Regions from separate parts of the Homo sapiens genome. Here region 1 is linked to region 2. The links are contacts of gene promoters, found by promoter capture Hi-C in blood cells and fetal thymus (Javierre and others, 2016). All regions are on one chromosome and are shown on one strand. Each heading gives the region's core, a stretch centred on a gene start or on the middle of the fragment in contact. The rest is flanking DNA. Distances are from core to core; before and after follow the strand shown. Region 1 holds the start of MLKL (mixed lineage kinase domain like pseudokinase). Region 2 holds the start of TXNL4B (thioredoxin like 4B).

The links. Contacts are between HindIII fragments. The CHiCAGO score rates a contact against its expected background, and 5 or more counts as called.
Region 1: a contact is called between the fragment with the promoter of MLKL here and a fragment that was not itself captured in region 2, in 2 of 17 cell types (non-activated CD4 T cells and naive B cells). The highest score is 7.2, in non-activated CD4 T cells.

What each region holds. Positions count from the first base shown.
Region 1 is chr16:74,697,415-74,703,109 of GRCh38, forward strand. MLKL (mixed lineage kinase domain like pseudokinase) reads right to left here and starts at 3,448. Exons shown (of 11, transcript NM_152649.4): 1 at 3,039-3,448. RefSeq lists an enhancer at 2,902-3,351. The HindIII fragment of the contact is 1,546 bases long and covers 2,152-3,697 here.
Region 2 is chr16:72,090,852-72,095,786 of GRCh38, forward strand. TXNL4B (thioredoxin like 4B) reads right to left here and starts at 2,769. Exons shown (of 4, transcript NM_017853.3): 1 at 2,516-2,769. It overlaps DHX38 (DEAH-box helicase 38), which reads left to right and starts at 2,996. Exons shown (of 27, transcript NM_014003.4): 1 at 2,996-3,200. RefSeq lists enhancers at 2,542-2,871, 2,882-2,931, 2,992-3,291. The HindIII fragment of the contact is 817 bases long and covers 1,151-1,967 here.

The DNA.
Region 1 (5,695 bases), core at 2,198-4,697, 2.6 Mb after region 2:
TTGCAACTGAAGCCGACTGCGTTCAGCAATGAATGATGATAATAATTATGACACTAGATCTCTCAATTCACCTACTACATCCTAAGTGCTTTGGAACCCCCAGCTCTCCATGGTTATTTTCATTTAACAGATGAAGATACCATCTGGGCACAGTAGTTCATACCCGTAATCCCAACATTTTGGGAGGTAGAGGTGGGAAGATTGCTTGAGGCCAGGAGTTCCATTCTGGGCAACACAGCGAGACCCATCTCTACTAAAAATACAAAAATTAGCTGGGACCTGTAGTCCCAGCTACTCAGGAGGCTGAGGCGGGAGAATCGCTTGAGCCTGGGAGGTTGAGGCTGCAGTGAGCTATGATGACACCACTGCACTCCAGCCAGGGAAACAGAGAGACCCTGTCTCGAAAAAACAAACAGGTGAAAAGTGAAGATGCTGCGGTTCAGGGAGGTTGCATTCAAATAATCACAAGGCCATGGAACCAGTTTTCAAAGTATTTAAAATAAAGTTAGGGTAGGGTGTCATGACTCAAACCTGTAATCCCAGCACTTTGTGAGGCTGAGGCCAGGGGATCGTATGAGCCTGAGTTCGAGACCAGCCTGGGCAACATGGTGAAACCCTGTCTCTACAAAAAAATACAAAAATTTGCTGGATGTGGTGGTGCTTGCCTGTAGTCCCAGCTACTCTGGAGCCTGAGGAGGGAGAATTGATTGAGGCTGGGAGGTCGAGGCTGCAGTGAGCCATGATTGTGCCACTGACTCCATTCCAGCATGGGCAACAGAATGAGACAGTGTCTCAAAAACACCACCACCACCACCACTAACAAACGACAACAAAAAACAAAGTTAGTTTTTTTTTTTTTAACAGCTCAGTGAAATAGGTAGGTTAAGTATTATCGCCAGTTTATGGATTAATTAGCAGCTTGGAGAAAATAATTGGCCTGGAGCCCAAGTATGGCTTTAAAACATGAGTAAGGCACTGGCAGAAGTGAAACTAAATAAATGAGCAATCGATATAGTTGTGTTTTTGTTGCCTGAGAGTTACAGTGATTGGGCAAGGGAGGTAACAGTTATTAGGGCACTCCTAAAAAGACTAGTGGATCTCAGACTACCCAGCTATTCCCACGTGCTAAGCAGATATCTTCAAGGCCATTTCTTGGGAATTGTGAGGGCAAAAGGTTTTACACTTTCTCTGTTGCACCAGAAACAGAAGCAAATGTGGCAATGTTGTTCAAGGAATCTTGCAAATTGTAGCTTCCTAGCTCTAAGCTCCAGTTATCTTACCAGCAGCCTCATCAGAAAGCCATATCTCAGCACTGAACTAATCAGAAAGGAAAATGGGGAAAATATCCCACCCATAGAACTGACAAACAATTTCAAATAATAAATTATACAGTGGTGGCATGGTATGAAGAAAATTGCAGCGGTCACATTGGCTCATGCCTGTAATCTCAGCGCTTTGGAAGGCCGAGGCAGGTGGATCACCTGAGGTCGGGAGTTTGAGATCGCCCGGCCAACATGGTGAAACCCCATCTCTACTAAAAATACTAAAATTAGCCAAGCATGGTAGCAGGCGCCTGTAATCCCAGCTACTCGGGAGGCTGAGGCAGGAGAATTGCTTGAACCCGGGAGGTGGAGGTTGCACTGAGCCGAGATCACACCACTGTGCTCCAACCTGGGCAACAGAGCAAAACTCCGTCTCAAAAACAAAAACAAAAACAAAAAAAAAGAAAGAAAGAAAATTGCACAAAACAAAGCTTGAAGAAAGGAGGAAAGAGAAGTGTTATATTTCTGGCTGGGAAGACTAAAACAGACCAACCCAGCAATCCTTCCCAAATTTAAATCCAATTTAATGCAGTTCCAATAAAACATCTACTGACATATTTTGGCATTAAATCAAAATGATCCTAAAGTTCATTTGAAATGGGAAATTAGTAGGGATAACCAGGATTTTAAAAAATAAAGAAAAGGGGACTTGCCTGTATGAAATTAAAATATATTAAAAACTGCAAAATATTGGGAAAAAGCACCCTACAATAACTTAAATTGTTTAAGGTCTTATTAAGTATATGATCTACAAGGGAAGAAAGGGAATATACATATATACACACTTAGACTGGGCAATTTGAATTTCTAGGAACTTATGATGTAGAAAAGCTTGTGTTTGTAGATAGATGGCTACCGAGATGTTCACTGCAGTGCTATTTATAATATGTAAAACAAACAGCTAAGAATATGTTCAGGCCAGCTGCAGTGGCTCACACCTGTAATCCCAGCACTTTGGGAGGGTGAGGTAGGAGGATCACCTGAGCCCAGGAGTTTGAGACCAGCCTGGGTGACAAAGCGAGACCCTGGCTCTACCAAAAAATACAAAAAAAATTTAATTGGGTGTGGTGATGTGCACCTTGTAGTCCTAGCTACTTGGGAGGATCTGGTTGGAGGATCACTTGAGCCCATGAGTTCGGAGGCTGCAGTGAGCTATGATTGTGCCACTGCGCTCCAGCCTGGGCAACAGAGGAAGACTCCATCTCTCAAAATAAATAAATAAAAAGAAAAAGGGGATTATGTTCATATGTTACGATGAGAAAACAGGTTACTAATTTTAAAAGTGAAAAATCTTTAAATGGTAATAACAATGCAAATTCACCTCTTCCCTCCAAAAAATAAAAAATAAAAATAAAATAAAATAAGTAAAGGTTATCAGGCATTTCCCTCTTCTCTCTCTCTCACTCTGTCTCTCTCTCACGCCTTCAGCCTGCAAACCTGAAGACTTCCTTTTTCTGAGAAGACATCAGGTAACTTGTTCCCGTGCCCCTGCCCTCCACGACCCCCACTGCTACTGGGCGTCTCGCTTTGGCGGAAGGTAGTGCGAGATCCGAGCAGGCAGCTCCACCATCAGAGCTGAGGAAATGAAACCAACTCGGTCCTGAGTTCCAGGAACTCGGACCGGGCCACCCTCACCCCTGGTTCTTCCCATCACCGTCCAGGAATTCGGCTGCAGCCCCTCGGCCCCGCCGCCTCCTGGGAAGACCCCATGCTCACCTTCGCGCCTCCCGAGGGGTGTGCGTCCAATCTGTCCCGTGCACAGTTCCAAAAAGCTCGCTCTTCCACCTTCTTTCCCACGACCGCCTCCTGCCCAGGCGAGAAGTTTGCAAACGCGAGGCCCGCGGGAGTTCCCCTGCGCCCCCTTTCCTGGTGCCCGCACCCTGCACTCTGCTGACTGTACCGGACGCCACACGTGGCTGGCGGCGACAAGGCGCCCCGATCCCTACCTGAGGGAAACCCCGGCCACTGCAGCTGCACTTGAGCAGGGTCCCTCCACTCAGCCACTTGGATGGCTGTTTCTGTCCAGTGCCCTCCGGAGGCCACTGCCTCAGGTCTGTGATGCCTGCAGAGAATGCTGCGACACTTCCCCCTCCGACGTGGCTCCAGCTGCCAACCACCAGGCTCACGGTGCCCTGGCTCCCTGGAGCCGCTTTCTAGGCAGCTCGGAGCCACGGCCCCTCCCTTCCTTCCTCCTGTCCTTTCCACACTCTTCCTGCCTTCCCCAAAGTCACTGGGTAACTACGCTGTACACGTCAGTACCAAGCCTTCTTTAGGGGCTGGGGATTCAGAATAGAATAAGGTCCCAGCAACTATTATAACCAGGACACAGTATGAGAAGGACTGGAAGTTTAGAGAAAAACTGAAAGTTGGAGAGAAGCTTCTGGTGTTTGCTTCTCTGTGCTGGATAATATTGGCGGGGTGGGGAGGGTACGAGGGAAGAGACACCAAAGTGGGAAAAAAGTCACTTCCTCTTCTAAGGTCATTGCAGAACATCCTGTTACAGTGTGAGTCAGGTTTTCTTAAGATTAACTACATCTTCAGCTAGAAAGTCTAAGTAGTGTTATGCATTTACTCAACAGACTATTTGCCTCTAAAAGAACAGAACTGGGAGCTGGGTGTGGTGGCTCATGCCTGTAATTCCAGCACTTTGGGAGGCGGAGGTGGCCAGATCACCTGAGGTCAGGAGTTCAAGACCATCCTGGCCAACATGGGGAAACCCTGTCTCTACTAAAAATACAAAAATTAGCCAGGCGTGGTGGTGCATGCCTGTAATCCCAGCTACTCGGGAGCCTGAGAGGGGAGAATCGCTTGAAGCCGGCCTTGGAGATTCATTTCTTCGCCTTGCTATTGTTCTTCGTCTCCTGCATCATCAGTTTTCTTCCTGTCTTAGGTGAAGAGATTGAGGTGAGGCAGGAGAATAGGGTCTGCAGGCAGGGAACATAAAGCTGATTCACGCTGACTTCTTAGAACTAAATAAAATGGACACATTTCAGCTATGACAGGAAATATTTTCTTCATTTACATATGGCGTTCACTGAGTAAGTGACTGAGCAACTTCACTTCATCTTCTTCATTTACATAGGGTGTACACCAATTAACCAATGGGAGCCTCTAGAGGGTATTTAAATCCCAGAAAATTCTGTAACGGAGTTCTTGAGCCCCTATGCTCACGCTGGCTCCCACCCTGTGGAGTGTACCTTTGTTTTCAATACATCTCTGCTTTTGTTGCCTCATTCTTTCCTTGCTTTGTGCATTTTGCCCATTTCTTTGTTCAAGATGCCAAGAACCTGGACACCTTCAACAAGTAACACAGGTGCCTGTGATTTATTGAAGGAAGACTCTTAGGAGAGTGGTGGGTATGATAGGGCAGAGGAAGAAAAAGTGAAACAAGTATGTAGTCAGTGGAGGCTCCATGGGGAGGTCTGGAATGTGAAGGTCTGGAACAAGAGGCAGCCTCCTTTCTGCCCAGGGCAATTCTTCTGGACGAGGGGGAAGCTGTGTGAGTGTTTAGCTGTCAACACTCATAGCAGCTGCAGGATGGGTATACTGATCTGCTATAAACAAAATCATACAATGTATAACCTTTTGGAAGTTTTTTTCTTTTCTTTTCTTTTTTTTTTTTTTTACTGTCCCACCATCAATGTACAAGACATTCAGTTTCTCTGCATCCTCAGCAGCATTTTATTTTGTCCCTGCCTGAATTTTTAGCTATTCTAACAGGTGAATAGTGATATATCATCATGGTTTTTTGTTTTGTTTTGTTTTGAGATAGAGTCTTACTCTGTTGCCCAGGCTGGAGTGCAGTGGCGCCATCTCAGCTCACTGCAACCTCCACCTCCTGGGTTCAAGCGATTCTCCAGCCTCAGCCTCCCAAGTAGCTGGGACTACAGGCGTGCACCACCACACCTGTCTATTTTTTGTATTTTTAGTAGAGACAGCGTTTCGCCATATTGGCCAGACTGGTCTCGAACTCCTGACCTCAGGTGATCCACCCACCTTGGCCTCCCAAAGTGCTGGGATTATAGGCATGAGCCACTGCGCCTGGTCTCATCATGGTTTTAATTGGCATTTCTTTAGTGCCTGGTGATGATGGACATGTTTTCATGTGCTTGTTTGCCATCTGTATAGCCTCATTGGTGAAATGTCTGTCCATGTCTTTTGCCCATTTTTAGTTGAATTCTTTTTAAAAAACTTGAGTTTTGAGAGTTTAAATATTCTAGATATTAATCCTTTGCCAGATAGGTGGTGTTCAAATGGTGGTGGAGTAACTGAACAAAAAAATGAACTTCACCTAAACCTCATATTCTATGCAAAAATTGCCTGAATGGATCAGAGATTTAAATGTAAAATGTAAAACAAGGAACCTTTTAGAA
Region 2 (4,935 bases), core at 309-2,808:
TTAATTCACAGAGTAGCTAATGTATTCACATGGTATGAAAGAAACATCATAGAAAGGTAACACTGTGGAGTTTCCCTCTCTTTGTCCCTGCTCCTTGGAACCAGTTTTCATTGTTCCCTCCCCCGGGCCAGATAACTGCTTTCATTAGTTTCTCATGTATCTTTCAGAGTTTTGTTATGCATTCACCAAAAAATACAAATATGCGTTCCGATATTTTTTTTCTCTCTCTCCCCACCCCCAAAAGATAGCCTATTGTATCAGTGTTCCAGCAGGAAAGCGATGACACTCTCAACTTTGGTAATTTGAAGGCAGTTTAATTAAGGCAGGTGTAGAAAAACAATACGGTAAAGTGTACTACTTTGGGGCTAGTAACAGCGGGATGCTGTACCCATCCCTAGGCCATGGGAGGAAGAAGCCACGGTAGGAAGCAGTTATAAGAATTGTGTGGCAGAAAGAGGTGAGTGGAGAGGACAGTGTATAGGAGGGCAGCCTGCTGTTAGGTGTTGCAGCCACTCTCCTCCCTCCCTCTGACCTTTGCTCATGCAACCACCGGCTGACTCCAACTGGAACCAGAGGGCAGGGGCCTGTTGAGGCAGGCAAACCTCCCTGTCCCAGAGCAGTCTAGAGGAGGATGAAGAATGGCTGTGGAGGGACCAATGGCAGATGTTCAGCACACACACTTTATCTACTCTTCAGCACTTTTCATTATTTCAAACCTAACCTATGAAGATTGCCCCATATCTCTATATAGAGAACATCCATATTCTCTGTCATGGCAGCATATTATTTCTTGCATGTGTTACACTTTTTAAACAGTCCTTTATTGTATACTTTATATTATTACAAGTCCTGGCTTAAAGATTCTTCGTGTGCACCTTACTAGGTGCACCTCATTACACGGCAAACAGATCAATTAAGAGTGTGTGTGAAAACTACAATACCATAAACAAATAATAAAATACTGAGGTACAAGGGACCTAATACAACCCCGTCATTTTACAAACTAGCTTGCTTACAGTTGCACTTTCTACTACAATGACAAGGACTAGAATACAGGCCACCAAATTTCTAGTCCAGGGGTCCTTCTACTACAATAATCTATTTTCATGATTGGTAGAAATTTCATTTTTGAGAAACTCTTTGACAAAGAAGCTTAGTTTTGTGGTCATCTATAAGAGACTCCATTGAGATGGTCGGTATTTTGAATTCAGTTCCAAATATGAAAAGGGAGGATTTCTTTTCCTATTTTTTTTGTCACAAGTCACATTTTAAGATACGAATTAGGCCAGGCTCACCCCTGTAATCCCAGCACTTTGGGAGGCCAAGGAGGGTGGATCACCTATGGCCAGGAATTCGAGACCAGCCTGGCCAACATGGTGAAACCCCGTCTCTACTAAAAATACAAAAAATTAGCCGGGCGTGGTGGCAGATGCCACCTGTAATCCAAGCTACTCAGGAGGCTGAGGCAGGAGAATTGCTTGAACCCTGGAGGCGGAGGTTGCAGTGAGCTAGGATCGCTCCACTGCACTCCAGCCTGGGCAAGGCAACAAGAGCGAAGCTCCGTCTCCAAAAAAAAAAAAAGGAATTATTTAACTAAAATTCACATAGGAAATAAGATTGTTCCAGCTATAGGTCATACTTTAAACAGGGACATTGATGGCCCAAAGGGACGTCATCAGATGTGAGCAGCAGAACAAATTACCAATGAAAGGGAAGGTCAAAGAGAAGACGGATCTGTCCCACTAGAATTCAAACAAACAGCAGTTCCTCCGTGTTACTGATCGAAAGGAGAAAGTAAGGGGAGAACAAAGTTGTTAGTGGTGAGGCTAGGGGTGCAACTGGACAAACGTTGGAAGCAGGAGAGGAAAACTGAGACCACATCTAAGAAAATGTCCATAGTAAATGATACCCACAGAGAATTCCCAAAAGAAGACGTACAAATGGACAGTAAATAAACTAAAAAGTTAAGCTTTACCAGTAAGCAAAGAAAAGCAAATTAAAACATATGTTTACAAAGTCACTGAATTGGCAAAAATTAAACAAGATAGTGGTAGGGGCAGGCACAGGGAGTTCCTGCTGGAATGCAGACACAAAACCTTTCTGGAAAGAAAACTGACATACTCTTTGACCAATAACTCCACTGCTTTCCTCTCTCCCTCTCTTTTTCTGAGGCGGGGTTTCGCTATGTTGCCCAGGCTGGTCTCAACTCCCCAGGCTCAAGCAATCCTCCCGCCTCAGCCTCCCGAGTAGCTGGAACCTCAGGCGCGCGCCACAACTGCAGAAACACCAAAAAAAGAAAAAAAGCTTGAACTCACTTTTGTACAGAATCTTACTACAATGTATTCCAGAAAAACAACTGGAAATCAGTGGTCATCTCTGCGTGTGAACGCATGGGTGATTTTTATTTACAGCCGGGCGCGCATCTCCATTTTCCAAAATATCCGATATACATATTTAAAGTCACCTGTGTTGCGCTGCTCCTGGCCCACAAGCGCTAAGGGACCCCAGCACTTACCTTACTCGTCCACGCCGCCTCACTCCCTTTCACTTTGTGGCTGTCAGCAACCACTTCTCGGAAGAGCCCGGGCGCGGACAGCTCCTTTCATCAGCCCCAAGCCGGACAGGACCCTAAGACCAAGTCACCCAGGGGCTGTTGCCTAGCAACCCTCGTGGCCCCGCTAGCGGGAAGGAAACCGAACAGAAAACGCACAAGCGCAGAAAAGAAACTCCTGGCCGTCGGTCGGCCCCCGCTCAACAGCCCAATAAACGGAAGAGCTTCTAGTCACCGCCCACCTTGCTCGGCTCTGACCGGAAGCTAGGCGTCACCTCCGCCCGTATTAAAGATGGTCGACCTTTTTCCCCTCCTTTTCCTGCCCCCAGACTAGAGGCGGGATGTAGTCTCTTAGGCTAAGAGTGATTGGTCACAAGGAGACTCGGAAGTGTCTGATCAGAGCCCCAGAGGAGGCCTTGAGAGCCTGTTGGCGTACCGTTCCACACTTGGATCCAGGAATCGGGCGTGTTCCAGGCTGCTCTCTATGGTAGCTTTGGGCGGATAGAGGGGGCGCGCAAAGTATTAAGGGACAATAATGGCCGCTTTCAAGGTGTGGATTTTGGCTCCTTGAGCCTGTCTGAGCGAGGGGTGGCAGCGCCGGCGCCCCAGAATCCGGGACAGAAGGGTCCCAAGAGTCGCGCTTGGTGAGGTGAGAGTCCCTTCTTCCTTCCTGGCCTGCCCTTCTGTAATCATGGCGGCTCTAGGCGGCGGATATTGGTCCCCTGCTCAGGTCCGGGCCCCAGTTTGGGGAGTTCCTCTGTCGTCCCTGTCACCCACCTTGCCTTACTCACCTCAGGGATGCTGCATCCGTCCTGGCCGCCTTGGCCTTCCTCCTTGCTCTGGTCAAATCCTGCTGCCTGGAGCGGCCTCGCTGAGATCCAGGGATGCTGCCTGGAGTGGCCTTGGTCCCTCTCCCAGGCCTCCGCTTTAACCCACCCCAGACTGTCACCGAGCCCGAGTAGGACTCCTTGTGTCTTCCTCTGCTCTCTCACAGTGTCATTTATACCAGGCAATCTGGTGGGCGATCTCTTCTACTAGAATGTCAGCTCCAGGTGGGCGGGGATTTTTGTCTTGTTCTCTGTTGCTATCGCCGAGAACAGCAATTGGCTCAGGGACACCCTCAGTGAATAATTGTTGAATGAATGAATCCAGGTTCTTTCTTCCCTGGCTTTCTCGTACGCCTTGTAGTTTCTTTGCCATTAATCCTTCTCAAGAATCTTGCTCTTTAGCTCCTTATTTGTTCGTCTCAGCAGCTAATGAAGTTCTCTCTGGCTGTCTCCTTGTCCTGTGTTGCTGGAATCTTCCCTTGCTGTCTCCAGAAATGTTTGGGTTCCTGTCCTCCTTTAATAAGTTTAAATTAATTCATTTTTTAATTTATCAAACGCTTATTTTGCTAGACATTGAGCTACAGCAGTCAACAACACATCCAGTGTTCTCTCAACTGCGTAGAATGGCAGTCCAGGGTACCTTTCCTAGTTTAGACAACTATTGAGTAGAGCCTGTATATCTTTACCTTCTTGTGTGGATTTCCTCACATGCGCACAGATGTCACCAATATGCAGCTTTCTTTTTTTCTGTTCTGCCTGATGGCATTTTCAAAATGTAACTCTTGTTTCTGCATTAATATTATGTGTCCAGTCTGTTTGGCAATACTCTGTAGAGCTGTGCATTTAATTAGAGTTTGGTAAACAATTCTGGATTCTGGTGGCATCTCCTTTGCTTTGCTAACTTGTTGGAATGAGAGGAATTATCCAAGCATCCAGAACTGATATATGTTGATGAGTGGCAGATGTGTAGTGAGAGGTAAAGAGGAGCTTGTTCCAACTTGAGTGCCAGAAGTCTTGTAGCCACTTAAATACTTCTCAGTAACACCTTTTCCTAACCTGGTGTTTCTCATAAATATTTTTGGTGAACATGGATTGTTATTAAACTGATTTTGGCTGCTGTGAGTAAATTGTTTTCTGTAAAACGCAGCTAGGCCAAGAAAAGCCACTAAAGTATGGAGAACATGGACGGTAGCCTTCTGCCCCATCTCTGTGCTGCTGTACCTGTTGTTTAAAGAGAGGAAGAGGTAGAACTCATGTAAAAAAATGGGTGAGGGACCAACAGTATATAGGAGGATAGCAAATAATACAATGTAGCAGTTACATTTATGTTAACTGTTATGGTTACATAAAGAGCTACTCTTTATGGTTTCACATACACTTTTTGTTTGATTCTCACAATAGCTTCATGGATTAGATAAGGTAAAAATTTTTTCCATTTAATAGATATGAAATTATGGCTAAACAAAGATTAAGTTATTTGCTTACCATCATACAGGTAGAAAGTGTCAAGAGCCTGGTTTCTAATTGAGGTTTCTGATTCAAATTTAGTGGTGTTTT